7 separate regions of the Homo sapiens genome follow, and all the other regions are linked to region 3. Evidence: promoter capture Hi-C in 16 types of primary human blood cells and fetal thymus (Javierre and others, 2016). All regions are on one chromosome and are shown on one strand. The core of a region is centred on a gene start or on the middle of the fragment in contact, and the rest is flanking DNA. Distances in the headings are between cores, read along the strand shown. Region 1 overlaps APOBEC1 (apolipoprotein B mRNA editing enzyme catalytic subunit 1). Region 2 overlaps CD163 (CD163 molecule). Region 3 holds the start of PEX5 (peroxisomal biogenesis factor 5). Region 4 has its middle 32 kb from the start of APOBEC1. Region 5 has its middle 53 kb from the start of APOBEC1. Region 6 has its middle 6.8 kb from the start of CD163L1. Region 7 overlaps CD163 (CD163 molecule).

Region 1 (4,092 bases), core at 1,004-3,503, 460 kb after region 3:
ATCCAATGGAACACGTACATTCTCTTCAATAAGATTACACACACTAATAAGAGAAAGGAGAATATCTGAAATACAGTAGAGCCAATATGTGTTGTAGTAACAAGAACAATAATAATGATAAAGCCAGACATGATGACACACGCCTGTAGTTCTAGCTACCCAGAAGGCTGAGGTCAGAGGATTGCTTGAGGCTAGGAATTCGGAGTTTGAGGCTGTGGGTTGCTGTGATGGTGCCTGTGAATAGCCGCTACACCCCAGCCTAGGCAACACAGCGAGACCCTGTGGCTTAAAAGATAATGATAATAAAATAAGAATAAAAATGATAAAATGTAATTAATATGGGGACCACCCATATCTTAGATCGGTTTACCCAAATTCCCTTCTCCACTTACCTCCCACAAACACACTTCTTGTTCTTAGGCTTAGATGTTGTTTGTTTGCTTGTTTGTTTACTTTGTTTGATACATAATTTTCTTTTTTATAGAGAGGGGGTCTCATTATGTTGGCCAGGCTGGTCTCAGACTCCTGGTCTCAAGCAATCCTCCCATCTTGGCCTTCCAAAGTGCTTGGATTACAGGCATGAGCCACTGTACCCAGCTGTGTTTTAGAAACAGGATCTTGTTATACCACGCAGGCTGGAGCATATTGGCGTGATCATAGCTCACTGCAGCTTGCAACGCCTAGACTCAAGCTTCCTGCGTAGCTGGGACTACAAGTGTGCACCACCATACCTGGCTCTGAGATTTTCTTAAGAGGAGCTAGCTAGTTAAATAACTAAATCTCAATATAAATGTCAAAAAGAAGATATGAGTCAAATTTTCTCAGGAAAGACCTTTGAAGAAGGATGCTTCTTTTTGCATCAACATTTGTGTCCCTAAAGTGACTTACTAGAATTATGCAGTGCAGCTCCAGTGCGTACAACATCATCCACAGAGGTGGGTATTGTGGCCAGTGAGCTTCATCCCCAGGTGGGTAGTTGACAAAATTCCTCCAGCAGTGATAATACTCTAAGGAAACACAAATCTTGGCTCATTCAACAAGCACAATGGTAAATTACTTAAGAAGATCCCCAACCTAGCTTCCCGTATAGAAAGCCTGTAGTCTCTAGTCTAGTTGCTGCTGGACATTAGACCCCCTAAAAAGAATAAAGCAGTTCATTTAAAGATGGCTGAGAGGCAAGACTAGAGAAAAGAGTTGTTGGCTGGGTGCGGTGGCTCACGCCTGTAATCCCAGCACTTTGGGAGGCCGAGGGGGGTGGATCACAGGTCAGGAGATCGAGACCATCCTGCCTAACACAGTGAAACCCCGTCTCTACTAAAAATACAAAAAATTAGCCGGGCGTGGTGGTGGGCGCCTGTAGTCCCAGCTACTGGGGAGGCTGAGGCAGGAGAATGGCGTGAACCCCAGGTGGAGCTTGCAGTGAGTCGAGATTGCACCACTGCACTCCAGCCTGGGCGAAAGAGCAAGACTCCGTCTCAAAAAAAAAAAAAAAAAAGAGTTGTTGTTTGTTTTTGTTTTTGTTTTTTGATACAGGGTTTCGCTCTGTCACCTAGGCCAGTGTGCAGTGGTCCAATCATAGCTCACTGCAGCCTTGAACTTCTGGGCTCAGGAGATCTTCCTACCTCAGCCTTTAAAGGTGTATGCTGCCATGCCTGTCTGATTTTTTTATTTTATTTTTTATTTTATTTTATTTTATTTTATCTTGAGACGGAGTCTCGCTCTGTCGCCCAGGCTGGAGTGCAGTGGCGCGATCTCGGCTCACTGCAAGCTCCGCCTCCCGGGTTCACGCCATTCTCCTGCCTCAGCCTCCCGAGTAGCTGGGACTACAGGCGCCCGCCACCACGCCTGGCTAATTTTTTTGTATTTTTTAGTAGAGACGGGGTTTCACCGTGTTAGCCAGGATGGTCTCCATCTCCTGATCTCATGATCCGCCCACCTCGGCCTCCCAAAGTGCTGGGATTACAGGCGTGAGCCACCGCACCTGGCCGGATTTTTAAATTTTTTTTAGAGATGGGGTCTCACTATGTTGCCCAGGCTGATCTTGAACCCCTGGCTTCAAGTGATCCTCCTGCCTTGGCCTCCCAAAGTTCTGGGATTATAGGCATGAGCCACCATGCGTAGCCAGGAGTTGTATTTTTGTAACTTTCCTTGTCATGAATTTCAGACCTAGTCCTTTATGACATTATTTTGGACTTTTACTTCTGAGACTTCCAGCCTGGGCTAACCAATCTTCTGGCCTAAAAACAGCTACTATCACCACAGTCTGTTGTAAACAATGAAGTTTCTTTGTTTACTGTTTTTACCTGATGCTCTCATAATCTGAATAGTTACTCCACTGTTAACAAGGTCCCTGAGACCTTGCCGATTTTGTTGATCCATGTGCCAAAAAAGCCGAGCTACGTAGATCACTAGAGTCACACCAGGGTGCCGACTCAGAAACTCTCTAATAGCCTGGGAGCATTCCCAGCAGGGACTCCAGGACAAGAACCAGGTGATGGAGCAGCTCATGGATGGGTGAAAATCTCTTTCTGACGTAAATTTTTTTATAAAATTAACTTCCACGTGATTGGTGGTGTTTTTGCCTGAGCTTCGCCAGATCTTCCGGCTCATGCCCCACTTGATTTCGTAGAGCAGACAGGCCTCTTTACGAAGTTCTCTGGGGTCATAGAAGACGTCAAACTCCCAGGGTTCGATTCTTCTCCTGAAATACAAAAAGCAGCCCACACTGTCATGCCACATTTAGAGAGATCTTAGAAATCTTTTCCTGCTCCCCTCTTCTTTTTTTATTTTATTTTATTTTATTTTATTTTTTTAAGATGGAGTCTCACACTGTTGCCCAGACTGGAGTGCAGTGGTGCAATCTCAGCTCACCACAACCTCCACCTCCCAGGTTCAAGCGATTTTTCTGCCTCAACTTCCCAAGTAGCTGGGATTACAGGCTCCCGCCACCATGTCCAGCTAATTTTTTTGTATTTTTAGTAGAGACGGGGTTTCACCATGTTGGCCAGGCTGGTCTCAAACTCCTGACCTTGTGATTCGCCCACCTCAGCCTCCCAAAGTGCTGGGATTACAGGCGTGAGCCACCACGCCCAGCCTCTGCTCCCCTCTTCTATCAGGCTGATCTGAGACATAACATCTCAGGAAACTTCTTTTTCTAGTATATGTCTCAAAGTTATCTGAAGAGGTCTGTTTGAATTATCAGATTTTTTTTTCTCACAAACATAGTGCACAGGTTTCTTCCCCCAGTCACATTATTTGGTGACCACTCTCTAATACCATTATGTTTTAGTCTTGAATTCAGGTGTAAGCGTGTCTTTGTTTCTCTTTTAAATTTTCCTTCATTATATTCTAACCCTTTTTTTTTTTTTTTTTTTTTAAGACATGGTCTCTCTAAGCTGGCCAGCCTGATCTCCCCTTCCTGGACTCAAGCTACTCTCCTGCCTCAGCCTCCTGAGTAGCTGAGACCACAGGTGTGCCCCACCATGCCTAGCTATATTCTAACTTTTCTATTTTACACCTAGAGGTGCTATGTTCCAATCCTTATCTTTTCTATTCCTCAATGGACTCTAACCAGATTTTCTCAAGTGTTGACGCCTCAAATTGCCAACAAGATTGTATTGTCAAGAACAGACAAAAGAGCAATTTAGCCTCAAGATTCTTCCACATTAGGATTCTATATACTAACTCCTATAAGAAAGAAATTCTACTTGCTCTCAGTGGTGTCTTTAGATTTAACACTCTCTATGTCTGAAAGCTGTAACTCAAGGGAAACTCAGAATTGAACTGCAGACTCTTCTTTGCAATATGGTTAAGTCACAAGCTTATTACATCCTAATAGTTCCCACTCATCCCTAAAGTATCACATTCATTTACTACATAGATCAATCCTTCCACCTATCAAGAGATAATATATTCCTTAACATGACTTCCCTGTCCTATGTCTGAAAAATGGGCAGACATTATAAAACGAAGATGAAGTTAAAGTGACAAATGAGTTTCCCAGGTATTTCACTAATGGCTATAAAAGCATGCGATTTAAAAAAAGAAGAGAAATTGTAAGACAATAACAGATAAGCAAGCTAGAAAATCATT
Region 2 (4,252 bases), core at 1,229-3,728, 280 kb after region 3:
ATAAACACACATGCACACGTATATTTATTGCAGCACTATTCACAATAGCAAAGACTTGGAACCAACCCAAATGTCCATCAGTGATAGACTGGATAAAGAAAATGTGGCACATGTACACCATGGAATACTATGCAGCCATAAAAAAGAATGAGTTTATGTTCTTGGCAGGGACATGGATGAAGCTGGAAACCATCATTATTAGCAAACTAACACAGGAACAGAAAACCAAACACCACATGTTCTCACTTATAAGTGGGAGTTGAACAATGAGAACACATGGACACAGGGAGAGCAACATCACACACTGGGGCCTGTCGGGGAGTTGGGTGCAAGGAGAGGGAGAGCATTAGGACAAATACCTTAAAACCTGCAGGGCTTAAAACCTGGATGATGGGTTGATAGGTGCAGCAAACTACCATGGCACATGTATACCTATGCAACAAAACTGCATGTTCTGCACGTGTATCCCAGAACTTAAAGTACAACAATAATAATAATAAAGGGTGGGGCACGGGAAATTTCATGACAATGATTCTTTGGAAATAAAACACAGACAACAAAGATGAACGTAAACGAATGAGTTTACATCATACTGATAATGGGTTAATATCCAAAATATAGAGAGAACTCAAACAACCCAATATTGAGAAAACAACCTCATTAAAAATGGGCAGAACAACAGATATTTGTCAAAGGAAAACATACAACTGTCAAACAGGTATATGAAAAAAAATCCTTAACATCACTAATCATCAGGAAAAGGCAAATTAAAACCACAGTATCACCTCACCTTATACCTATTAGATAGCTATAATCAAAAACATGAAAGATGAGGATTGATGAGGTTGTGGGGAAAAGGGATCCCTTGTAAACTAGTGGTGAGAATGCAAATTAGGACAGCCTTAAAAATTAAAAATAGAATTACCATATGATTCAGCAATTCCACTTCTGTCTATATTTCCAAAGTAAAGGAAATCAGCATGTTGAAGAGACATCTGCATGCTCATGTTTATTGTAGCACTAGTCACAATAACCCACATATGGAATCAACCTAAGTGTCCGCTGATGGATGAATGAAGAAAATGTGGTACATATACACAATGGAATACTATTTAGCCTTTAAAAAGAGGGAAATCCTGTCCTTTGCAACAAAACAAATGATCCTAGAGGACATTATGTTAAGTGAAATAAGCCAGGCACAGAAAGACAAATGTCATATTACCTCATTTATAAGTGGAATGTGAAAAAGTTGAACTTATAGAAACAGAGAGTAGAGTGGTGGTTACCAGTAGCTGGAGGAAGGTGTCTAGAGGATGTTGGTCAAAGGATACAAAATTTTCATTGGGTAGGAGGAGAAAGTTAAGAGATCTATTGTACAACATGGTGACTACAGTTAATAACAAGGTATTGTATTCTCGAAAATCACTCAGAGGAGGTTTTAAGTGTTCTCACAGAAAAAAGTAAGTATGTTAGGTAATGCATATGTCAATTAGCTTGATCTAGCCATTCCACAATGTATACATATTTCAAAATATCATATTGAACATGATAAATATGTAAAATTTTGTCATTTAAAAAATAAATAACACAAAGAAAGGATAAATGCTTGAGGTGATGAATACCTAATTTACCCTGATGTGATGATTACACATTGTGTGCCTTTATCAAAATATCTCATATACCCCATATATATATACACTTACAGTGGACCCACTAAAATTAAAAAAAAATCAATTGCATAGAAAACTAGGATATTTAGCAAGTTAGTAGGCCCTAAGTTTAGTGTTGTACTACTTTAAATGCTATCTTTTCTTTATGTGAATATGTATCATAAGTAACTTTTAGTAATATACAAACTTACTTTATAACCATTATATTTACATAGAAAAGACATAGTTTATGTATGTATTTAAGCTTTACTTATAATGTCCTGAGGAATGAGAAACGAAACCACTGAGTCTTTGTGCCCTCACCAGGTGTGGCTCTGCATTTTATTCTAGTGAACAGAATTACAGTAACAAAAAGCAGTTAAAGAATCGTTGTGAGTCATGCCTTATAAAGTTAGCCATATATTATTTACAGACCCTTCAATATCATTAACTTTTCCTGTCTTAGAAAAACTAAAGTAAAAATAAATTTATTTTTATTTGGTAATAGGAAAATTATTCAAACCAAATAAGAAAAAATATACAGTACTGTATATGCAAATTGAAACACTGTCAAATAAAACACATTATAATACATCTAGGAAACTCTACAAAAAATTAGGAAGCCCATTTAGAAATTAATAGAATTAAGGACAAGTAATTAAAGCAAACTCAAATCAATAACATTCTTATTTATTTATTTAATTCCCTTGAAAGTCTCATATACACCACTAAGTAGTCACATTCACAAACTTAATTTTTATAAATTCAGCAGCAGTCTTAGGAATCCTAGGAGAAGAAGAACTCCATAAAAATGCAACTGTAATAGTCAGTGAGAGAGGTGAATTTCTGCTCCATTCAATAGTCCAGGTCTTCATCAAGGTATCTTAAAGGCTGAACTAAAACCATAAATAGAAAAATGTCATTTTCCTCTCCATATGCGTATAAGAATTCATTACATTATAACACAAAGAGAAACTCACTTATGTTAAAAATTATACTACTTTCCTGAGCAGAAATTTTAAATGCTATTTTTTTTTAACTTCAGTGTGCATAAGAATTACTTTTATTCCATGGAAATACAGTAAGATTAAGAAATGCCATTTATAGGAGCTGGCAAGATGGCTGAATAGGAACAGCTCCAGTCTGCAGCTCCCAGTGAGACCAACGCAGAAGTCTCTGCATTTCCAACTGAGTCATTTCTGCATTTCCAACTGAGTGGCGCCTAGAACCCCAGGGAGACAGAACCTTTCACTCCCCTGGAAAGGGGGCTGAAGCAAGGGAGCCAAGTGGTCTCACTCAGCGGGTCCCACTCCCACAAAGCGCAGCAAGTCACGAACTACTGACTTGAAATTCTCGATGCTAGCACTGCAGTCTGAAGTCGAACTCGGACAATCAAGCTTGGTCGGGGGAGGGACATCTGCCATCACTGAGACTTGAGTAGACGGTTTTCCCGTGACAGCGCTAAGGAGGCCAAGGAGGCCGTTGGCCAGATTGCCTCTCTAGATTCCTCCTCTCTGGGCAGGGCATCTCTGAAAGAAAGGCAGCAGCCCCCCTCAGGGGCTTATAGATAAAACTCCCATCTCCCTGGGACAGAGCACCTGGGGGAATGGGGCGGCTGTGGGTGCAGCTTCAGCGCACTTAAACATTCCTGTCTTCTGGCTCTGAAGAGAGCAGCAGATCCTGACAAGGAGAATTCTCCCAGCACAGCGCTCGAGCTCTGCTAAGGGACAGACTGCCTCCTCAAGTGGGTCCCTGACCCCCATGCCTAGTGACTAGGAGAGACCTCCAAGCAGGGGTCAACAGACACCTCATGCAAGAGAGCTCTGGCTGGCATCAGGCCAGTACCCCTCTGGGACGAAACTTCCAGAGGAATGAGAAGGCAGCAATCTTTGCTGTTCTGCAGCCTTCGCTGGTAATACCCAGGCAAATAGGGTCTGGAGTGGACCTCCATCAAACTGCAGCAGAATTACAGAAGAGGGGCCTGACTGTTATAAGAAAAACTAACAAACAGAAATCAATAATATTAACATCAACAAAAAGGACCCCTACACAAAAACCCCAACAAAGGTCATCAGCTCCAAATATCAAAGGTAGATAAATCGATGAAGATGAGGAAAAACAAGTGCATAAATGCTGAAAATTCCAAAAACCAGAATGGCTCTTCTCCTTTAATTGATCACAACTCCTGTCCAGCAAGGGCACAAAACTGGACAGATAATGAGGTTGATGAATTGACAGAAGTGGGCTTCAGAAGGTGGATACTAACAAACTTGTCTGAGCTAAAGGAGCATGTTCTAACCCAATGCAAGGAGGCTAAGAACCTGATTAAAGGTTACAGGAACTGCTAACTAGAATAACCAGTTTAGAGAAGAACACAAATGACCTGATGGAGCTGAAAAACACAGCATGAGAACTTCGTGAAGTATACACAAGTATCAATAGCCAAATCGATCAAGTGGAAGAAAGGATAACAGTAATTGAAGATCAACTTACTGAAAAAAGGAATGAAGACAAGATTGGAGAAAAAAGAATGAAAAGGAACAAACAAAGCCTCCAAGAAATATGGGACTATGTGAAAAGAACAAACCTATGATTGATTGGTG
Region 3 (4,076 bases), core at 1,019-3,518:
TGACCGTGGTCTGGGTTCAAATCCCAGCTCTGCTATTTATTAGTATGACCTTGTGCAAGTCACTCAACTTCTCTGTGCCTCAGTTTCCTCTTTTGTAAAATGGGGGATAATAGTTATTATTAATAACTATTAGGAGGATTAAATAAATCAATAGTTGAAAAGTGCTTGAAACAATGCCTGGCACACAGTCAATGCAATGTGTGTCTAAACATCTATTGAACTTGAATTCGTCAAACATTAAAGAATAAGTAAAAATTATTTTTATTTTATAAAAATTACTACTTTTATGAATAGAACAAGAATTTAAAGTTGAACCTGGATTAACAAAATCTAGGGTTTCAAATCTAGAGCTTCAGTAAATTAAATATTAAACACCAAAGTCACTCTATTAGCCCTTTCCCAGCACCTCTGGCTGGGACTGTGGACCAAGTTCTGTGAATGATTCTATGGCCTAGGAGATCAAAGATCTCCATGGTTTATCAGTAAGTCTTCTCTAAGACTGGGAAGTAGGTGCCTAGAGTTATGCCTGGATTAAATTTTGACTTCCTAGCCATCTGATTTTGCACAAGTCTTATCTGTAAAGTGGGTCTACTAATATCTATTTAATAGGGGTATTAAGAAGATTAAAAACATTGAGATACATAAAGTGTTTTACACAACACCTGGATTTTAGTAAACATCAGTTATTATTATTAGCATTCTTCCAAGATCTGCACACAAAGTGAGTTACGGCTAATCAGTTGATAAACTCCTAGCAGAGCAGAAGGTTATGTGTGTTGTGATGTTTAAGTGGTACTGGGAAACTCTGGTTGCCTTGAGGTTCTGAAATTCTACTGTATCAGATGGGTTCCTTTAAACATTGCTCTCTCTAGGGGGTCCTCTTTTTAAAAGTATGCACCTTCTGGAGGGCATCTCTTCATCCTTGTGTGGTTTAGTTTATCAGGTATTTTCCTCACGATGGCAGCCTGAGAACAGGGGACGCCCAAGGGCTGGGATTTGTGTGCTCCGGAAGAAAACGGGGTGTAGAAGTGGGGCCTCTGAAAGAGGGCGAAAAGGCAAGGAAAAGGAGAAATGTTGCACAGTCTTATGGTCTGTCCCCTGCCATTCTGTTCCCCTGAGGTGTCAGAGCAGCTTCTCTGTCTTCCCAGGGATGAGTTTACACAGACATTCCCTGTGGCCCCCTGAGGCCTCCACCTCTGAAATCTGCAGAACAGCCAGGAAACAAGCCCGGCCCATGGCGCCACCTGCTGCCTGCCTGCCTCCGCTCATGCACCCTGGGCTGGGATGGTACTTCTGTTCGTCTGGCATTATTGCCCTTGGTCATTTACCGGCAGCCCTGGGCCCCTCCTTGCTCTTCTCCATGACACTAGGACTCCCTTGGTCTTGAAGCTGGGTGAGATTATCAGGGTTTGTTTCTCAATGACTTTGAGGTTTGACAGCAGAGCACACTCTTTGGCAGATGAGGGGGCTTGAGGCTTAGTCTTATTCCGTGATTAAAAGCATTTCTTGTATGTTTGTCCTTTCCCAGCCTGGAGTGATGGGAATAAGGCCACTATGTTGACTTAGCGGAAGGAAGGGCTGACTCACTGTTCACCTTCCCTGTACGTTACCAGCTCGAGGTCTCAGGATGCGTTGGACCCTATTTTGGTCTCCGGAATTTGTCATCATGCAGTGCTATTTTCCCCATTATGCAGAGGTGGAGAGGGATTAAGGCGGGGGCGGGCCCCTGTCTCCATGGAGACAGTGACGCTACCCCGCTAGGGGTTATTTGGAAGCGGGGCAGGCCTAGGAGGCTGAAGAAGGCTTCGGACTGGACTCCCCAGCCCCTGGTGTTAGGGCTTTTCTCTTTCTTGGGCTTGGGAACATTAGCCAGCCCCATTTTAGAGGGGAAAACTGAGGCTCAGAAAGGGCACTGAATCCCCTTAGGTCACAATGCGCCCAAGGGAAGAGGCAGGATCGACTGAGCCTAGGATCTCGCGTCTTCGGCTTTCCCCCAGAGCCTGGGAAGCCCTTCTTAGCTCCACTCTTCTTTGAGCTTTCCGTCAAACAAATCCTAGGGCCCGTGGCCTTTTCGAGCGCTCCTAAAGGCGACTCTCCAAGACCCGCTCTCTAAGGTGCTCTTCCCCTTTAAGACTCACGGCTCTTCCCGTCAGGCTGCGTCGCAGTCTTAAGGCCCCGCCTTTTCAGACAGCTTCCGCTGGGCCTGGGCCGCTGCGGGGCGGTCACGGCCCCTTTAAGCCTGAGCCCCGCCCCCTGGCTCCCCGCCCCCTCTTCTCCCCTCCCCCAAGCCAGCACCTGGTGCCCCGGCGGGTCGTGCGGCGCGGCGCTCCGCGGTGAGCGCCTGACCCCGAGGGGGCCCGGGGCCGCGTCCCTGGGCCCTCCCCACCCTTGCGGTGGCCTCGCGGGTCCCAGGGGCGGGGCTGGAGCGGCAGCAGGGCCGGGGAGATGGGCGGTGGGGAGCGCGGGAGGGACCGGGCCGAGCCGGGGGAAGGGCTCCGGTGACTTAAGGGGAGGGAATGCTCCTCTGCCGTGCTCACCGCGTGCTGGGGCTGCGCGGGGCTAGGTATGGTCGGGCTGTTTTCCCACTGTCCCTTCTTCGGGCAGTGTCGCCGTCCAGCCTGGTTGTTGAAGCGTCCCCGTGGTCCCCCGGGGTCCAGGCCCCTTTGTGGAGGCAGCTGCTGGCCCCCAGCCCATGGGACCGTAGTCGCGGAGGCCTCTGCAGAGGCGCAGGCTGGAAGCGGTGGCCTTTGAGGGGGGCGGCAGGAGAGAGTACCGACCTCCCTCGAACTCCTGGCAGAGGTGGGGGTCGCAGCAAAAGCACTGGGGTGGAGGGCGGCCAGTGTGGGGCAGACGCCTGTGTGCCTTCCTCAGATACGGGCAGAGTTGTGGATGTGAGAAGGGTCTGGCTTGGGTACCTCAGTTCCAAACCTCCTGTGTCCATCAGAGAGCTGGCGGTCACCATGGCAATGCGGGAGCTGGTGGAGGCCGAATGCGGGGGTGCCAACCCGCTCATGAAGCTCGCCGGGCACTTCACCCAGGACAAGGCCCTTCGGCAGGAGGGATTGAGGCCTGGCCCCTGGCCCCCCGGAGCCCCGGCCTCTGAGGCAGTGAGTGTTCTTGAGGTGGAAAGCCCAGGTGCAGCCTCTGAGGCAGTGAGTGTTCTTGAGGTGGAAAGCCCAGGTGCAGCCTCTGAGGCAGTGAGTGTTCTTGAGGTGGAAAGCCCAGGTGGTGGTGGTCTGAGGTGGAGGGGCTGTTTGCACATCTTGGTATAACTGCTTTCTCTATTGTGTTGCAAATCATAGTAGTTACCACTTACTGAGCGTTTATAAACACTAGAAAACCCTGTGCACCTTTAAATAAATGCAACCATTTTATAGATGAAGAAGCCGAGGCTCAGATGCCTATGGGCTTCATCAACCCCTGATTTTAGAGGAACTGCGTCATTGTACATCTCTGTCTTTCTCTCTTAGGCCTCCAAGCCTTTGGGAGTAGCTTCTGAAGATGAGGTAAATAGACCAGTCTCTTTTCTGTCCCATTTTTCTCTTGCCCACTGTGTTTTTACCTTTAAACTTAGTTCACCCGTATTTCAATTTTTGGGCTTTCCTGACCGAATGAGAATGCCTGCTTGTTTTTAAATGTATTTTTTCGTCCTTCTAAATCTATGGAAAGACAGTTTCTCTTTATGTGTCTCCAGTTTCTGTGTTTTCCTTTCCTTGTATCTAACATTGGGATCCCCCTCCAGTGGGTCCTGCCTCTTGCTGGGGCCTCCCAAGCCTATGGGTTCATTTCATCATTTCCCTTCTGGCAGTTGGTGGCTGAATTCCTGCAGGACCAGAATGCACCCCTTGTGTCCCGTGCCCCTCAGACCTTCAAGATGGATGACCTCCTGGCTGAGATGCAGCAGATTGAGCAGTCAAACTTCCGCCAGGCTCCCCAGAGAGGTGAGTCCAGAGTCTAGTGGGAGGGGAGATCGTTTTCCATGTAGCCAGGGCCAAGGAAGGGGGTTCCATTGGATGCTGCTGGCATTGGGGACCTGAGATGCAGAAGGAGACAAAAGTAACAGAGTGTTTTCACGT
Region 4 (3,670 bases), core at 1,116-3,615, 440 kb after region 3:
TTATTGGAGGAATAATTTGCAAATATTTTCTCTCATTCTGTAGGTTATTTCTTTTGCTATGCAGAAGCATTTTAGTTTAATTCAGTCTCGTGTGCCTGTTTTTGTTTTTGTTATATTCGTTTTTGGAGCCTTTTTCATAAAATATTTGCCTAGGTTGATGTCCAGAAGACTTTTTCCTAGGTTTTCTTCTAGATTTTTTATGGTTTTAGGTATTTAATTTAGGTCTTTAATCCATCTTGAGTTAATTTTTAATATGGTGAGGGATAGAGATCCAGTTTCATTCTTCTGCATATGGCAATCCAATTTTCCAGCACCATTTATTAAATAGAGTGTCCTTTCCGCATTATTTGTTTTTATCAACTTTGTTGGTTGTAGGTATTGGCTTTATTTCTGGGTTCTCTTATTCTGTTCCATTGATCTAATTGTCTATTTCTGTACCAGTACCATGCTGCTTTAGTTACTATAGACTTGTGATATAATTTAAAGTCAGGTAATGTAATGCCTCTGGATTTGTTCTTTTTGCTTAGGACTGCTTTGGCTATTCAGGCTTTTTTCGTTCCATATGAACTTTAGAATTGTTTTTTCTAAGTTCGTGAGGAATGAAGTTGGTAATTTGATGGGAAATGCATTGACTGTAGATTGCTTTGGGCAATATGGTCATTTTAAGTATATGGATTCCTCCAACCCATGACTATGGAATGTTTTTTTGTTTGTGTCATCTACAATTTCTTTCACCAGTGTTTTGTAGTTCCCCTTGTAGAGATGTTTCACCTCCTTGGATAAATGTATTCCTTGGCACATGATTTTTTCATGGCTATTGTAAATGGGATTGAGTTTGATTTGGTTCTCAGATTGAACATTATTGATGTATACAAATGCTACTGATTTTTATATGCTGATTTTGTATCCTGAAACTTTACTGAAGTCGTTATCAGGTCTATGAGTCTTTTGGAGGAGTCTTTATGGTTTTCTAGGTATATGATCCTATCATCAGTGAATGGAGATAATTTGATTTCCTCTTTTCCAATTTGGATCCCTTTTATTTCTTTCTCTTTCCTGATTGCTCTGGTTAGGAGTCCAGCACTATGTTGAATAGGAGTGGTGAGAGTGGACATCCTTTTCTTGTTCCAGTTTTTAGGGGAAATGTTTTCAACTTTCCCCCATTCAGTATGATGATGTTTGTGGGTTTGTCATATATAGCTCTTATTATTTTGAGGTACATTCCTTTGACGTTTCATTGGTCGAGGGTTTTTATTATGAAAAGATGTTGAATTTTATCAAATGCTTTTTCAGCATCAGTTGAAATGATTGTTTTTTGCTCTGCATTTTGTTGATATGGTGCCTCATATTAATTGACTAGCATATGTTGAACCATCCTTGCATCCCTGGAATAAAGCCCACTTAACTGTGATGAATAATCTTTTTGATGTGCTTTTGGATTCAGTTTGCTGATATTTTGTTGAGGACTTTGGCATCTATGTTCATCAGAACAGCCCTCATTCAACTCTTCAGCTACGTAACTTCTACTAGTGACCTAATTCTTTGAGATGTCATTCCCTGCAGGAGGGCATCCTTGCTCTTCCAAGTCTAAGTTAAGAGGCATTATTTGGTTTTCTTACCTCGTCTTAGGCCTTAACAACACTGCCTTTTATTTGCTTTTAATATCTACTCATATGTAAATGTAACCTCTTCATAATAGGAAATATGTCTAATTTGCTTCCTAATTTATACCCCAGGCTGGCACATTGTAAGTGTGGAATAACTATTTGGGGAATAAATTCTTACATGGAAACATAACTGTTGCCCCTGTGTGATATATGTACTTTCAATATACTGGCATATTATCTACAGAAATATTAGAAGCTAAAGAAAATTAGAAGCTAAGAGAAAATTCTTAAAATCCCATATTCCCATTTAGGATATTGATTGTGATCTTATAAGCCAAGTTAGACTTAGATGACATGGAAAAGGACATATGTAGGACCTAATCGCCTTTTTTCTTTTGTAGCTTGAAAATGACAGCCTTGGTTTATTTTTATTTTTTACTGATCCATAATAGTTGTGCATATTTATAGAGCACATGTAATATTCTGATACGGGCATGTAGTATATAATCATCTAATCAAAGTAATTGCGATATCCATTAGCTCAAACATCATGTCATTTTCAGGGACATGGCTGGAGCTAGAGACCATTATTCTTAGCAAACTAATGCAGGAACAGAAAACCAAATACCATGTGTTCTCACTTATAAGTGGGAGCTAATGATGAAAACACATGTATACATAGAAAGGAACAACACACACTGAGGCCTGTTGGAGGGTGAAGGGTAGGAGGAGAGAGAGGATCAGGAAAAATAACAATGGGTACTAGGCTTAATATCTGGGTGATGAAATGATCTGTACAGCAAACCCCCATGACACAAGTTTACCCATGTAACAAACATGCACATGTACCCCTGAACTAAAAAGTTAAAAAAATTTGCTGAGCACGGTGGCACACGCCTGTAATCCCAGCACTTTGGGAGGCCAAGGCGGGTGGATCACGAGGTCAGGAGATCGAGACCATCCTGGCTAACATGGTGAAACCCCATCTCTACTAAAAATACAAAAAATTAGCTGGGCGTGGTGGCGGGCGCTTGTAGTCCCAGCTACTTGGGAGGCTGAGGCAGGAGAATGGCGTGAACACGGGGGGTGGAGTTTGCAATGAGGGGAGATCGCGCCACTGCACTCTAGCCTGGGCGAGAGAGCGAGACTCCATTTCCAAAAAAAAAAAGGTTAAAAATTTTTAAAAAAAGAAAGTCTATAGGGCCCAGACTTACCCAACATCTTTATACTTTATTGCACTGTGGCCCTATTAGACTTTCCTGTGAGTTGGATCCTGTCCAACTTCCCAAACAGATGCTGATACTTTGTGGGTTGTGTAGTTACTGATAATTCGTCATCATCTTCTCATAACTGAAAGCTCATGGAGAAATTTTGCCATCTAGTTTTGCTATAAATGGGTTTTGTTCATTGCTCCTTGGTTTTGCTGCCCTAGATGGAGATTTTTAAAGTGCACTGTACTAAAACCACCTACCTAGAATCTTCCCCATCTTCATTCTTAAAACACTTTTCTCTCCACTTGGCTTCTGGGATAAAAGTTTTCTGATTTATCTTTTATCTTATTGGCTACTGCTACTCAGCCAACTTTGCTGTTTCTTCGTCTTTGTCTTGATCTCCAGATGTTGGTAAATCCTGTGGATTGGTCTTCAATTTTCTTATGTCCACAATTCATATTCACATGTCTAAGTAAGGTCAACCATTCCTGTGACTTTAAGACAATGCATATGTAAAGCCCATTTTTTTAATCCCCAGATTTTACCTTTTCTATCAAATTCAGACATGAATAACTGTCCACTTGTATGTCTAATAAACATTTTAAAAGTTAACATAATTAAATGGAACTCTTGACTTCACTTTCAAACCACTCCTAGCCCTGTGTTCCTCATTTCAGTTAAGTGACAGTATCATTCATCTGGTTGTTCTTGCTAAAAATGTAAAAGTCATGAGTTTTCCCTTTGTAGCATACATTTATTCCATCAACAAATCCTGTCAACTAAACCTTTAATATATATCCCAAATCTTACTACTTCTCACCACTTGTATCTTTATTTCAGTAGAGATAATAG
Region 5 (3,726 bases), core at 564-3,063, 420 kb after region 3:
AGAAGACCTGTTAAATATATACACACCCAAAACAGGAGCACCCAGATTAATAAAGCAAGTTCTTAGAGACCTGTGAAAAGATTTAGATAACTACACAATAACAGTGGTAGAATTTAACACCCCACTAACAGTGTTAGACAGATCATTGAGGCAGAAGACTAACAAAGACATTTTGGACCTTAACTCAACACTTGACAAAATGGACCTGATAGACATCTACAGAATTCCCCACCCAAAAACAACAGAATATACATTCTTCTCATCTATGCATGTCACATATTCTAAAATTGACCACACAATTGGACATAAAACACCCCAGCAAATACCAAAAAAACCCAAACTCATACCAACCATACTTTCAAACCACAGTCCAACAAAAATAGAATCAATGCTAACAAAATTACTCAAAACCATACAATTAAATGGAAATTAAACAATCAGCTCCAGAACAATTTCTGGGTAAACAATAAAATTAAGGCAAAAATCAAGAAATTCTTTGAAACTAATCAGAGGGCCGAGCGTGGTGGTTCATGCCTGTAATCCCAGCACTTCGGGAGGCCGAGGCGGGCAGATCATGAAGTCAAGAGATTGAGACCATCGTGGCCAACATGGTGAAACCCCATCTCTACTAAAAATACAAAAATTAACTGGGCGTGGTGGCGCATGCCTGTAGTTCCAGCTACTGAGTAGGAGACTGAGGCAGGAGAATTGCTTGAACCTGGGAGTCAGAGGTTGCAGTGAGCTGAGATCGTGCTACTGCACTCCAGCCTGGCAACAGAGCGAGACTCCATCTCAAAAAAAAAAAAAAAAAAATTAATTAGAAAAACATACAACATACAAGAATCTCTGGGACACAACCAAATCAGCGTTAAGAGGGAAGTTTGTATCACCAACCACCCACATCAAAAAGTTAGATCACAAGTTAACAACCTAACATCACAACTAGAGGAACTAGAGAAACAAGAGCAAACTAACCCCAAAGCTAGCAGAAGGCAAGAAACAACCAAAATCAGAGCTAAACTAAAGGAGATTGAGATGTGAAAAACCATACAAAAGATCAATGAATCCAGGAGCTGGATCATTGAAAGAATCAGTAAGATAGACTGCTGGCTATACTAATAAGTAAAAATGAGAGAAGATCCAAATAAACACAACCAGAAATAACAAATGGGATTACCACTGATCCCACAGAAATACAAAAAACCCTCAGGGACTATAACAAACATCTGTATGCACACAAGCTAGAAAACCTAGAAAAAATGGATAAATTCCTGGAAACATACAATCTCCCAAGATTGAACCAGGAAGAGATTGAATCCCTGAACAGACCAATAATGAGTTCCAAAATTGAATCAGTAATAAAAAGCCTACCAACCAGAAAAAGCCCAGGACTATATGAATTCACAGCCAAATTCTGCCAGATGTACAAGAAAGAGCTTGTGCCATTGCTTCAGAAAGTATTCAAGAAAATTGAGGAGGAGAAACTTTTTCCTAACTCATTCTACGAAGCCAGCATCATCCTAATACCAAAACCTGGCAGAGACACACAAACAAAAAGGAAGTTTCTGGCCAATATCCTCAATGAACATATAAGGTTGGTGCAAAAGTAATTGCAGTTTTTGCCATTGAAAATAAAGGCCAAGTGGCCAAGTGTGGTGGCTCATGCCTGTAATCCCAGCACTTTGGGAGGCCAAGGCAGGCAGATCACTTGAGTCCAGGAGTTCGAGACCAGCCTGGCCAACATGACAAAACCCCATCTCTACTAAAAACACAAAAATTAGCCAGGTGTAGTGGTGAACACCTGTAGTTGCAGCTACTCAGGAGGCTGAGGCAGGAGAATCGCTTGAACCTGGGAGGCGGAAGTTGCAATGAGCCGAAATGGTGCCACTGGACTCCAGCCTGGGTGATAGAGAATCCATGTCAAAAAAGAAAGAAGGAAGGAAGGAAGGAAGGAAGGAAGGAAGGAAGGAAGGAAGGAAGGAAGGAAGGAAGGAAGGAAGGAAGGAAACAAAGAAAGAAAGGGAAAAGAAAAGCCAAAACTGCAATTACTTGTGCACCAACCTAATAGATGCAAAATACTCAACAAAATTCTAGCAAACCTAATCCAGCAACACATCAAAAAGCTAATCCATATGAACACGTACGTTTTATCCTATCCCTGAAATGCAACTTTGGTTCAACATACATAAATCAATAAATGTGATTCATCACATAAACAGAACCAAAACCAAAAACCACATGATCATCTCAATAGATGCAGATAAGGTTTTTGATAAAATTCAACATGCTTTCATGTTAAAAATTCTCAACAACCTAGTCATTGAAGGAATAGACTTCAAAATAATAAGAGCCATCTGTAAAAAACTCAGAGACAACATCATACTGAATGGGCAAAAGCTGGAAGCATTCCCCTTGAAAACCAGTGCAAGAAAAGAATGCCCTCTCTCACCATTCCTATTCAACATAATAAGGGAAGTCTTAACCAGAGCAGTCAGGCAAGAGAAGGAAGTAAAAGACATCCAAATAGAAAGAGAGGAAGTAAAACTATCCCTGATTGCAGATGATGTGATTCTATACCTAGAAGACCCCTATTCTCTGCCCAAAAGCTCCTAGATCTAATACACAACTTCAGCAAAGTTTCAGGATACAAAATCAGTTTGCAAAAATCAGTAACATTTCTATATACCAACAACTGTCAATTTGAGAGCCAAATCAGGAACACAATCCCATTCATAAAAGCCACAAAAAGAATAAAATACCTAGGAATATAGCTAACCAGGGAGGTGAGATATCTACAATGAGAATTACAAAACACTGATAAAATAAATCAGAGATGACACAAATGGGAAAACATTCCACGCTGATGAATAGAAAGAATCAATATTGGAGAAATGACCATACTGCCCAAAGCAATGTATAGATTCAATGCTACTTTTATCAAACTATCAACATTTTCTTTACAGAATTAGAAAAAAAAGCTATTTTAAAATTCATATGGAACCAAAAAAGAGCTCAAATAGCCAAAGAAATTTATTTAGTTATTTAGTTATTTATTTTACAAAAAGAAAAAAACCTGGAGGCATCACAATACCTGACTTCAAACTACCTTACAAGTAATGAAAACAGCATGGTACTGGTACAAAAACAGACACATAGACCAATGGAACAGAATAGAGGGTGCAGAAGTAGTACCACACACCTACAATCATCTGATCTTTGACAAAATCCAAAAAAGCAAGCAATAAGGAAAGGACTCCCTATTCAATGAATGATGTTGGGATAACTGGCTAGCCATATGCAGAAGATTGAAGCTGGACCCCTTCCTTACATCATATACAAAAATTAACTCAAGGTGGATTAAAGACTTAAATCTAAAACCAAACACTATAAAAACCCTGGAAGATAAGCTAGGTAATACCATTCTGGACACAAGACCTGGCAAAGACTTCATGACAAAGAACGAAAGCAATTGCAACAAAAACAAGAATTGGTAAATGGGACCTAGTTAAACTAAGAGCTTCTGCACAGCAAAAGAAACTATCAACAGAGTAAACAGACAACCTCCAGAATGGGAGGAAATATTTTCAAGCTAAGTATCTGACAAAGGTCTAATATCTACAATCTACAAGGAACTTAAATGAATTAACATTCCAACAACCCCATTAAAAAGTGGGCAAAGGACATGAACGGTCACTTTTCAAAATAAGACACTCATGCATCCAACAA
Region 6 (3,970 bases), core at 1,300-3,799, 260 kb after region 3:
CGTCATTACTAGCAGACCTATATTAGGCTTAGTGATTTACTTCCAAAGCATGGAGTATGAAAGATGGTAAATAACTTTACAGCGGAGAAATCTAGCAAATACCACTTCAAACAAATGATCAACAGTCACATCCCCAGAGATAACATGTGTATATCATGTATGCCCTGATATTGTGTGATGAGTAGGGCACTGCTGTGGTGTTCTTTCCCAAACCCCATTACTCCAATCTATTCATGAGTAAAACATGAGGCAAACCCAAGGTGAGGGACATGCTAAAAAACACCTGACCAGTACTCTTCAAAACTGTCAAGGTCATAAGAAATAAGAAAAGACTGAGAAACTGGCATAGACCAGAGGACACTATAAAGACAGGACAACAAAATGCAATGTGATATCCTGGATTGGATCCTGAAACAGAAAAGAGACATTAATTTTAAAAAATCTGGAGTTTATTTAACAGTAATTGGGTTTGTTTTCCAGGGCTGCCATAGCACAGTACCACTAACTGGGTGGCTTAAAACAATAGCAATTTATTTTTTTTACAGTTCTGGAAATGACAAGAATGAAATCAAGATGTCAGCAGGCCATGTCCCTACAAAGATTCTAAGGGAGGATCCTTCCTTGCCTCTTCCTAGCTTTTGCTTGTTGCTGGCAATCATAAGCATTCCTTGGTTTGAAGATTCATCACTCCAATCTCTGCCTCCACCATCATATAGCATCCTTCCTGTGTGTTTCTAAGTCCAAATTTTCCTCTTTTCGTAAGGACACATTGTTGGATTAGGGCTTACTCTAATCCAGTATAGCCTCATTTTAACTGATTACATTTGCAGAGACCCTATTTCGGATTGAGGCCACATTCATAGATACAAGGGATTAGGACCTGAACATATCTTCTGTGGGGACACAATTCAATCCACAACAATAATGTACCAATGCTGGTTTCATAGTTTTGACAAATGTTCCATGATGATAGTAGATGATAATTATTAGATTAGGGGAAATTGAAAATGGATGAGCAGTAAATGGAAACTCTCTTTATTATCTTCACAACTTTTCTGTAAATCTAAATTATTCCAATATAAAAAGTTTATTTAAAAGAGAAGTGAGAAATATATCTTTTAAAAGTATTCTTATAAAATATTTGAGGAAATATGGTGAAAGAAGGAACATGAGCAAGCTACCCTACATCTTCAAATGCAAACATAATCTATCTGTATAATTTATGATGTTATTATAAATCACAGCTATATATTTATAAATATATGTATATAAGTTTCTTAAATTATAATATAGTCTTTCTTTAGATTTATTTATTAGGAGTTTTTATAGTCCACTATGATCCCAAAAATAATAAATTGCAGTGGTGAGTGACAAATTCCTTTTTTCTTCCCTATAGATTATGTGGTCTCCTTATAGATACTGTAGCAGAAATTCAGGAGAAGCAATAATATGGTAAGGAAAAAGTGAGGAATTCTAGGGCCAGAAATATTTTTTAAAATTTTGGCTTTAAAACTTTTCTTTCTAACTAGAAAACCTTTAGCGAAAACTAGAACATAGATGCAAACAAGGTTTTAGACGACAAAAAATATTTACAACCACTCTAGGGCTACCTATTTGTCAGATAACCATGAGATCATACTAGGCAAGAAGGGCAAGACCATGGAGGGTATGACTAGGTAGGAGGACATAGCATTTGCTTTTGGTCTGAGAGGACAGTGGCAGGTTACAGAAAAGAGACAGAGCTATAAGAACCCAGAAAGCCCCACGGGCCAAGAAGGAGAGCTTATATTTACAGATTGAGCTGGTGAGGTCACAGAGTCAACAGCAGCACCAAGCAGAAGACATGATACTGTGTCATCAAAGTAACGCTAACACCTGTATCTATGACTCACCCAATCCTAAATAAATGCATTTGCCCAGAGTGACGAGGCAACTAATGTAAATGCACGAAGTGGGTTGAGATCGGAATGTGGTAAAATGGCAAGTGCACGTCCTGTTGAAAGGAAGAAGAGGTTACTCACCTCCAATTCACCGTTGTCATGTTGAAATGATGGCCCAATGTTTTCAGACCTCCTGATTTTCAAGAGAAACAGAAATCTGCATTACATTAGTAATAATCCGGTTTAAAATTGGAAGAAAAAAGATACATTTATAATGATAACAAATGCACAAACTTACTTAGGAGCCAATTAAACAAGAAATGTTAGGACTGTTATATTACAACGTACAATAGAGAGAGAGAGAGAGAGATTATTAATAATGAATGAATTGTATTGGGTTGACAACAGAAGGAGAGAATTCTGTAAAGGAGTCATTAAGAAAAGTAATCTAATAATTATTAAGGTGGCAAAGATAAACATTTTTATTTCTAAAGTACATCATTTTCCAAAGAACGTGATTTTTTTAACTAGGTGACTGAAGTGACCAAGTGATATAGACATTAAAAATAAGAAAAATTGAGACTAGACAGAGACAAAGGCAAACCTTGAGAGGACAATTTTGCTCATATAGATTTGTTTCTTATCTGTATGGAGGTGGCCCTTATTCTAGGCTTGCCCTTGTTTCCTCAAAGTAAACAGGTTACCTACAAAGACTAACAGTTTCACAAATTTATGCTTAAGTGGGTATAAGACAATGGAAATTGAAATGTCTTGGCTCCATATAAACTGTATTTTGTTTTGAAAAGCAATATAACATGATGGTGAGGAATGTGGCCGCTTGAGCCAGAGCACCTGGGTTCAAATTTCAGCTCTGTCATTACTAGCTGCATGCTTTTAAGCAAGTCATTTAACCTCCCTGTATTTTAGCTTCCCCAAATCTAAAATGGGTAAAAAAAAGTACCTACGTCATAAAGTTATTGTGGGTATTAAGTTTTTAATTCATATAAAGCATTGAAACAGTCCCTAGCACATAGTGAGCACCGTGTAAATGTTAACTCTTATTATATGGAGTGGAGATTTCACCATAAAGAGGAAATATTGAGCAACAAAAGAAGGGGAGAGAACGTTACTACTAATATTCTGTCAGACAATAATGGAAATTCTGAAAGCACCACAACAATATTTTTTAACCATCCAGGAATGTATTAATAGGAACTATTTTAACAATTAATGTCTGATATAGAATTCTGGTAAAAATAAATCTAAAATATAGGTAAAGACTTTATTTATATTAAATATTACTTTGAAGCATGTACATAAAGATTTATATTAGTATATAGGCAGAGTTCCTCAGTATATATACTCTACAAAGATGTATACATATGTTCATATTTGCACACACATATATATAGTACCTGGCATATGACTGGATGCATAGTGTATGGAATACAATTGGGTATTTAATACATAATACCTGACAAATAGTAGGTGCTCAAAAAGTTTTGTTGAATAAATGACTAAGTAATTTAGTTAATCTATGTCAAATATATATTTGAAATTGAGAAGAAGTGCAAAAATACAGAAAGTGTGCCAAATGGCATGTTTCCACAAGAGAGTTGCTTTGTAGACTTAAATGTCAGAGAAGCGTGTTTGTAATACCTGGATACTAAGAAAGGATTAAAAATCAATTTTCACCTTTCATCTGGATGTCAGCAAGACGGCACAATACAGCTTTCCAACGCTGGCTCCCTATAGAAACATTTGAATAACTATTCATGCACAAAAATACACTCACAAAAGCTAAGAAAACCAGGTGACAGATTATAGAACATAGTGTAGCACAGCAATAAGAAAAGATGTATTGGAGAGGAAGGACAGTTTTACATTACCAACATCCTCTGCCCCAACCCCAGAAAGCATGATGTGGAGACAGATACCCTCCCTGTGAGGGAAGGAAAGGGAAGTAAGCATCAGATTTTGCCTAGAACTTCAACACTGAGCCTGCCCCAGCAAAACCCAACACTGGGCAGGCCCAAGGCCCCAGACTCCAGGGTAGCAACCATGGGCTGGGTTCCAGGCCCACAATGGTG
Region 7 (3,721 bases), core at 28-2,527, 300 kb after region 3:
TGTATGCAATAATTAATCCAAAAGTATCAATGTAATGACCTATAATGTAACAACCTGTAATGTTCTCTGACTCTATTTTAGGCATTTGATGATGGGTGGGTTAAAAAGGCCGCCACAGAATTCAGTCTGTCAGTGAAGATAGATAATACTAAAAATAATAATCATAATCATATTAGCTAACATGTATTTATAGCTCACTGTGTAATTCCTGTGAGGTAGGCCCTATTACCACTCCCATTTTTCTTCTGAGCAAACTGCAGCACAAACAGTTTTCATAGATTCCCTAATTTCGTCCAGCTATTAAAATTAAGGAGAGGTGATAAACACTAATTCTTTAGTACACTTTAAAATAGTATGCTGTTACCTTAAAAGCTTTAATATCTATTACTTTATCAACCTAATTTGATGCTCCAGCCTAAAGATGCTTGGGCATGCCGTAATTTTCATGCTTCTGTGCCTCTGTAGAAACTTTTCTCTCTACTTAAAATTTATTTCCCTACCTTATATACCTAGGAAAAGGCTACTTCTTTTCAAGGCTGTTCAATTTCTCACTAATAGCCTTCTCCTCCATGAACACAGTTCACTACAAGATATACATATTTTAATAGTGATGAACCCAAAAATAGAAATATGTATTAGACATAAAACTAACAAATAAAGGAGTCATTCACTCTGTTTTAGACTATGGGGGAGAGAATAACATAGATCTAAACTGGATCTTGAAAAAAGATGAGGAGTTTGCCAAATACACAGTGTGTGAAACAATCTTTAAGGAATATGGTCACGAAATGCATGGTGTCATTGAAGAATTATAAGTAACTTACTGTAGCTGAAATTTAAAATATAAAGAAAAGACACACCAGAAATAATAAATGGAATTTATATTATGAAGATGCTCTTTGTCAAGTTAAGAAACACAATCATCAAGATAAGTGAGTTTCTTTGAAAATACTCAGAGGCAATATAAAGTACTTAAGAGATACAAACTATTTCTTTTAACTTGTTCTTTAAGAGAAATAAAGAAAATGCAGTTGAAAATTAGACCTTCTGAAGGTCTTAAGTCCTTTATAGATACCTGCTATCAAATATCAACAATTTTTGTAATCTCTTGATGTTACTATCACAATGATATAGATACACCATCAGCCCTTGCCAATCTACATACTCTGATTTCCTTTCATCTCTCATAAACCTTTCACCTGATACAAAAATGTCTTAGAAAATGTTTCGAATATGACCATGTTCTGTACTACAGCAATATAGAATACCTCAACATGTCAAAATTTCACCCATTATCCATTAAATCTGCGCAAAGCAAATTCCTATCCAAATTTGAAATGAAAAACATGTTGCTTTCTAAACATAGCTCAGAGTTTAAAGCAAATAACACCTCTACAATACAAATAATTAATGACCCTTGAGTGGGATGGTCTTTCATTTCTTCTTTTTGAATCTTTATTCAAGCATGAAATTTCTCTAAGATATCATTAACTAGTATTCATATGATCCCAACCTCTTTTGGACAGCCCTAAATCTTTAAGTAAAGGCAGTCTCCTAGATCAAGCCAAATTCTGGTTTCTTGTAACTTCTTACTCTTTCATTTGGACCCATCTTGAACAAAATAAACCAAAAGAAAACCAGTGAAAAACAAACAAACAAACAAACAAAAATATTTTCTTTTCCATTGTGAAAACTCATTAAGCAATTGAGAAAAAGTCCCTTCTATAAGTATCCTCTTGTTTTCTTTGTACTAACATATTTGAGTCAAGGCAGAGGACAAATTCTCCAACTCAGAAAGTGACTTGGAGACTCCATCCTCAGCCTTTATTTCGTGAATCTGCTAGTAACATGTTAATCTATCCTATGGGTCGCTTTGCTTATATCGTTACTCTTTAGACATGGATAGAATATTGGAAATGTATCCCTTTAATGGATTTTTTTCTGCTAAGTCTCTGACTGTGTTTTTACATAAAAACCATTAAGTAAATTTTTGCACCTGGATTTAGCACCATTGATCAACAACTACAGTTTTCCCCTGGCATAAGTAACTGAATCTGTTTTTCTTTCTTTTTCTAGAAAAATAAATAGATCTACAAAGAGCTTTAACATAATTAGAGACATAATTAACTAGAATTACTTCCTTTTGTTTAGTGATAAATAAAATATACAATTATGATTTAAAGAAGCTTTAATGTATTTTCAACATTTAATGCTTTTCAGACTCTGAAGAAGTATAGATCATCATAATCTCAGAATTATTTCTCCATCCTAAGTTAAAAGACAGCATAGCTCAAATGAACTGTTTCTTAAGGTCAGATGTCCTCTACAGTACATACACAGACATCACAAACAAAATGTCTGAGATTCAAAGTAATTTTGTGGCCAAAATTTCCTAGACCTTTTTCTGTCAACAATTTATCTTAAATTGTTTCCAATTCTCCTGCTTAGTTGAATTCTCCTGGTTCTTTTAAGCTGTATAGCCCTGTACTATATAAAAGTTAAACAATTTAAACAGATGATCAAATTCGTAGCTTGAATTTGGCAGGCACAGAGACAGCATATCATCATTGACAGAGACAGTATGTCATCATTGAAAGTATCAAGTAAATAAAGAAACAAAAGTACAAACTATATTACTAACAAAACATGTAAAAAGCTAAAAACCAAGGCCCCCAACATAAGTAGAAGAACTTCCAAAACCTACAGCAATATAACAAAAGAGTTTGTAAAAGGAAACAAAAAGTGCACATGGCAAATAGCAAACAAAAATACAGCTCTGTGAAGTACGGAGCCCACCTTAAGTTGCAAATTTATGTTATTCATGATTTCTATTATACACATCTGAATAGAATCCTGAATAATTTAGAACATGTTACCATAAGTAAGGTATTCTAGTAATGCAACCTAAAATATGGGTGTGGTTGAATGGAGTTGATGGGCAGAATGCATTAATGACTCAGGTGTGAGAGGCTAAAAACCTAAGGAGTCTTACACATGGTAAAATATTTGGGTAAGCCTCACTTTGAAAAGAAAACCGTGTGCTCACTGATGCTTAAAAAATGCAGAATTTATTGGGCAAAGTACAAGAAACAAAACTACAAAAAATCAGAATATTTGCATGACGTGGATTCTCCTTGCCACTTTTAGCATTTACAAGAAAGATGAATTCAGACTACAAGCAGTCAGAATGCAAGCAGAAATGGGAGGAGAAATATCAATTTTATAAGGGGGTATGGTCTGCCTGCAGGTGTTGTATATTGTTAATCAAGAGTCCTATAATTTGGAATTGAAGAATTGAAGAAAAAACTCTAAGTATCCTGTCCCCCCAAATTGAGGTGGTGGTAAAACTGTAGCCTTGTCAGAAGATAAAATTGATACTCCAGATACAAAGGCAATGAGTCTACCGGCAAAGACGGAATTTAGGTCTTGTCCTTCCTCCCAAACCCACAGTTTCAAACGGCCTTAAGGCAGTGGTCAATAATTAAAGAGAAGGGCTGGTCACAGCATAGATCAAAGTATATTTATATGCTCTTGGACTATAGTTACTTTCAGATGGCATTGGGTTATAAAGCAAGTAGACTAGAAGCTTAGTAACCTTGGAAAGAACTTTTTTGTTGAATTTGAGGGCAGCTGACATCAGCCCTTGATTAGTCAATCTTTAATCCAAAGGTCCCTAAACCAATATTAGCAGAAAGTGGGTTGTGAAAGGTGTGCTGTCCTT

The links. Contacts are between HindIII fragments. The CHiCAGO score rates a contact against its expected background, and 5 or more counts as called.
Region 1: a fragment that was not itself captured here is called in contact with the fragment with the promoter of PEX5 in region 3 in 15 of 17 cell types (M0 macrophages, M2 macrophages, endothelial precursors and 12 more); the score reaches 13.5 in M0 macrophages.
Region 2: a contact is called between a fragment that was not itself captured here and the fragment with the promoter of PEX5 in region 3, in 4 of 17 cell types (erythroblasts, M0 macrophages, M2 macrophages and 1 more). The highest score is 9.2, in erythroblasts.
Region 4: a contact is called between a fragment that was not itself captured here and the fragment with the promoter of PEX5 in region 3, in 16 of 17 cell types (naive CD8 T cells, monocytes, M2 macrophages and 13 more). The highest score is 11.7, in naive CD8 T cells.
Region 5: a fragment that was not itself captured here is called in contact with the fragment with the promoter of PEX5 in region 3 in 3 of 17 cell types (M0 macrophages, M2 macrophages and erythroblasts); the score reaches 8.7 in M0 macrophages.
Region 6: a contact is called between a fragment that was not itself captured here and the fragment with the promoter of PEX5 in region 3, in 5 of 17 cell types (erythroblasts, M2 macrophages, M0 macrophages and 2 more). The highest score is 9.9, in erythroblasts.
Region 7: a fragment that was not itself captured here is called in contact with the fragment with the promoter of PEX5 in region 3 in 4 of 17 cell types (M0 macrophages, M1 macrophages, erythroblasts and 1 more); the score reaches 5.8 in M0 macrophages.

The regions. Positions count from the first base shown.
Region 1 is chr12:7,650,135-7,654,226 of GRCh38, forward strand. APOBEC1 (apolipoprotein B mRNA editing enzyme catalytic subunit 1) reads right to left here. Exons shown (of 5, transcript NM_001644.5): 3 at 2,304-2,701; 4 at 889-1,007. Among named protein-coding and RNA genes, the nearest start is that of APOBEC1, 14 kb to the right of the region's middle. The HindIII fragment of the contact is 3,129 bases long and covers 690-3,818 here.
Region 2 is chr12:7,468,853-7,473,104 of GRCh38, forward strand. CD163 (CD163 molecule) reads right to left here. Exons shown (of 17, transcript NM_203416.4): 17 at 1,959-2,545. Among named protein-coding and RNA genes, the nearest start is that of CD163L1, 27 kb to the left of the region's middle. The HindIII fragment of the contact is 1,132 bases long and covers 1,913-3,044 here.
Region 3 is chr12:7,187,418-7,191,493 of GRCh38, forward strand. PEX5 (peroxisomal biogenesis factor 5) reads left to right here and starts at 2,269. Exons shown (of 16, transcript NM_001351132.2): 1 at 2,269-2,333; 2 at 2,945-3,107; 3 at 3,471-3,506; 4 at 3,809-3,941. The coding sequence starts at 2,961. RefSeq lists enhancers at 754-1,255, 1,256-1,755, 2,066-2,125, 2,126-2,842, 2,836-2,985 and 2 more and silencers at 1,166-1,215, 2,236-2,645. The HindIII fragment of the contact is 37,708 bases long and covers 1-4,076 here.
Region 4 is chr12:7,631,853-7,635,522 of GRCh38, forward strand. No RefSeq gene overlaps it. Among named protein-coding and RNA genes, the nearest start is that of APOBEC1, 32 kb to the right of the region's middle. The HindIII fragment of the contact is 7,139 bases long and covers 1-3,670 here.
Region 5 is chr12:7,610,581-7,614,306 of GRCh38, forward strand. No RefSeq gene overlaps it. Among named protein-coding and RNA genes, the nearest start is that of APOBEC1, 53 kb to the right of the region's middle. The HindIII fragment of the contact is 6,485 bases long and covers 1-3,726 here.
Region 6 is chr12:7,448,983-7,452,952 of GRCh38, forward strand. No RefSeq gene overlaps it. Among named protein-coding and RNA genes, the nearest start is that of CD163L1, 6.8 kb to the left of the region's middle. The HindIII fragment of the contact is 5,120 bases long and covers 1-3,970 here.
Region 7 is chr12:7,489,490-7,493,210 of GRCh38, forward strand. The region is part of intron 6 of CD163 (CD163 molecule); the gene reads right to left. LOC124902870 (a long non-coding RNA gene) reads left to right here and starts at 3,702. Exons shown (of 2, transcript XR_007063197.1): 1 at 3,702-3,721. The HindIII fragment of the contact is 1,814 bases long and covers 371-2,184 here.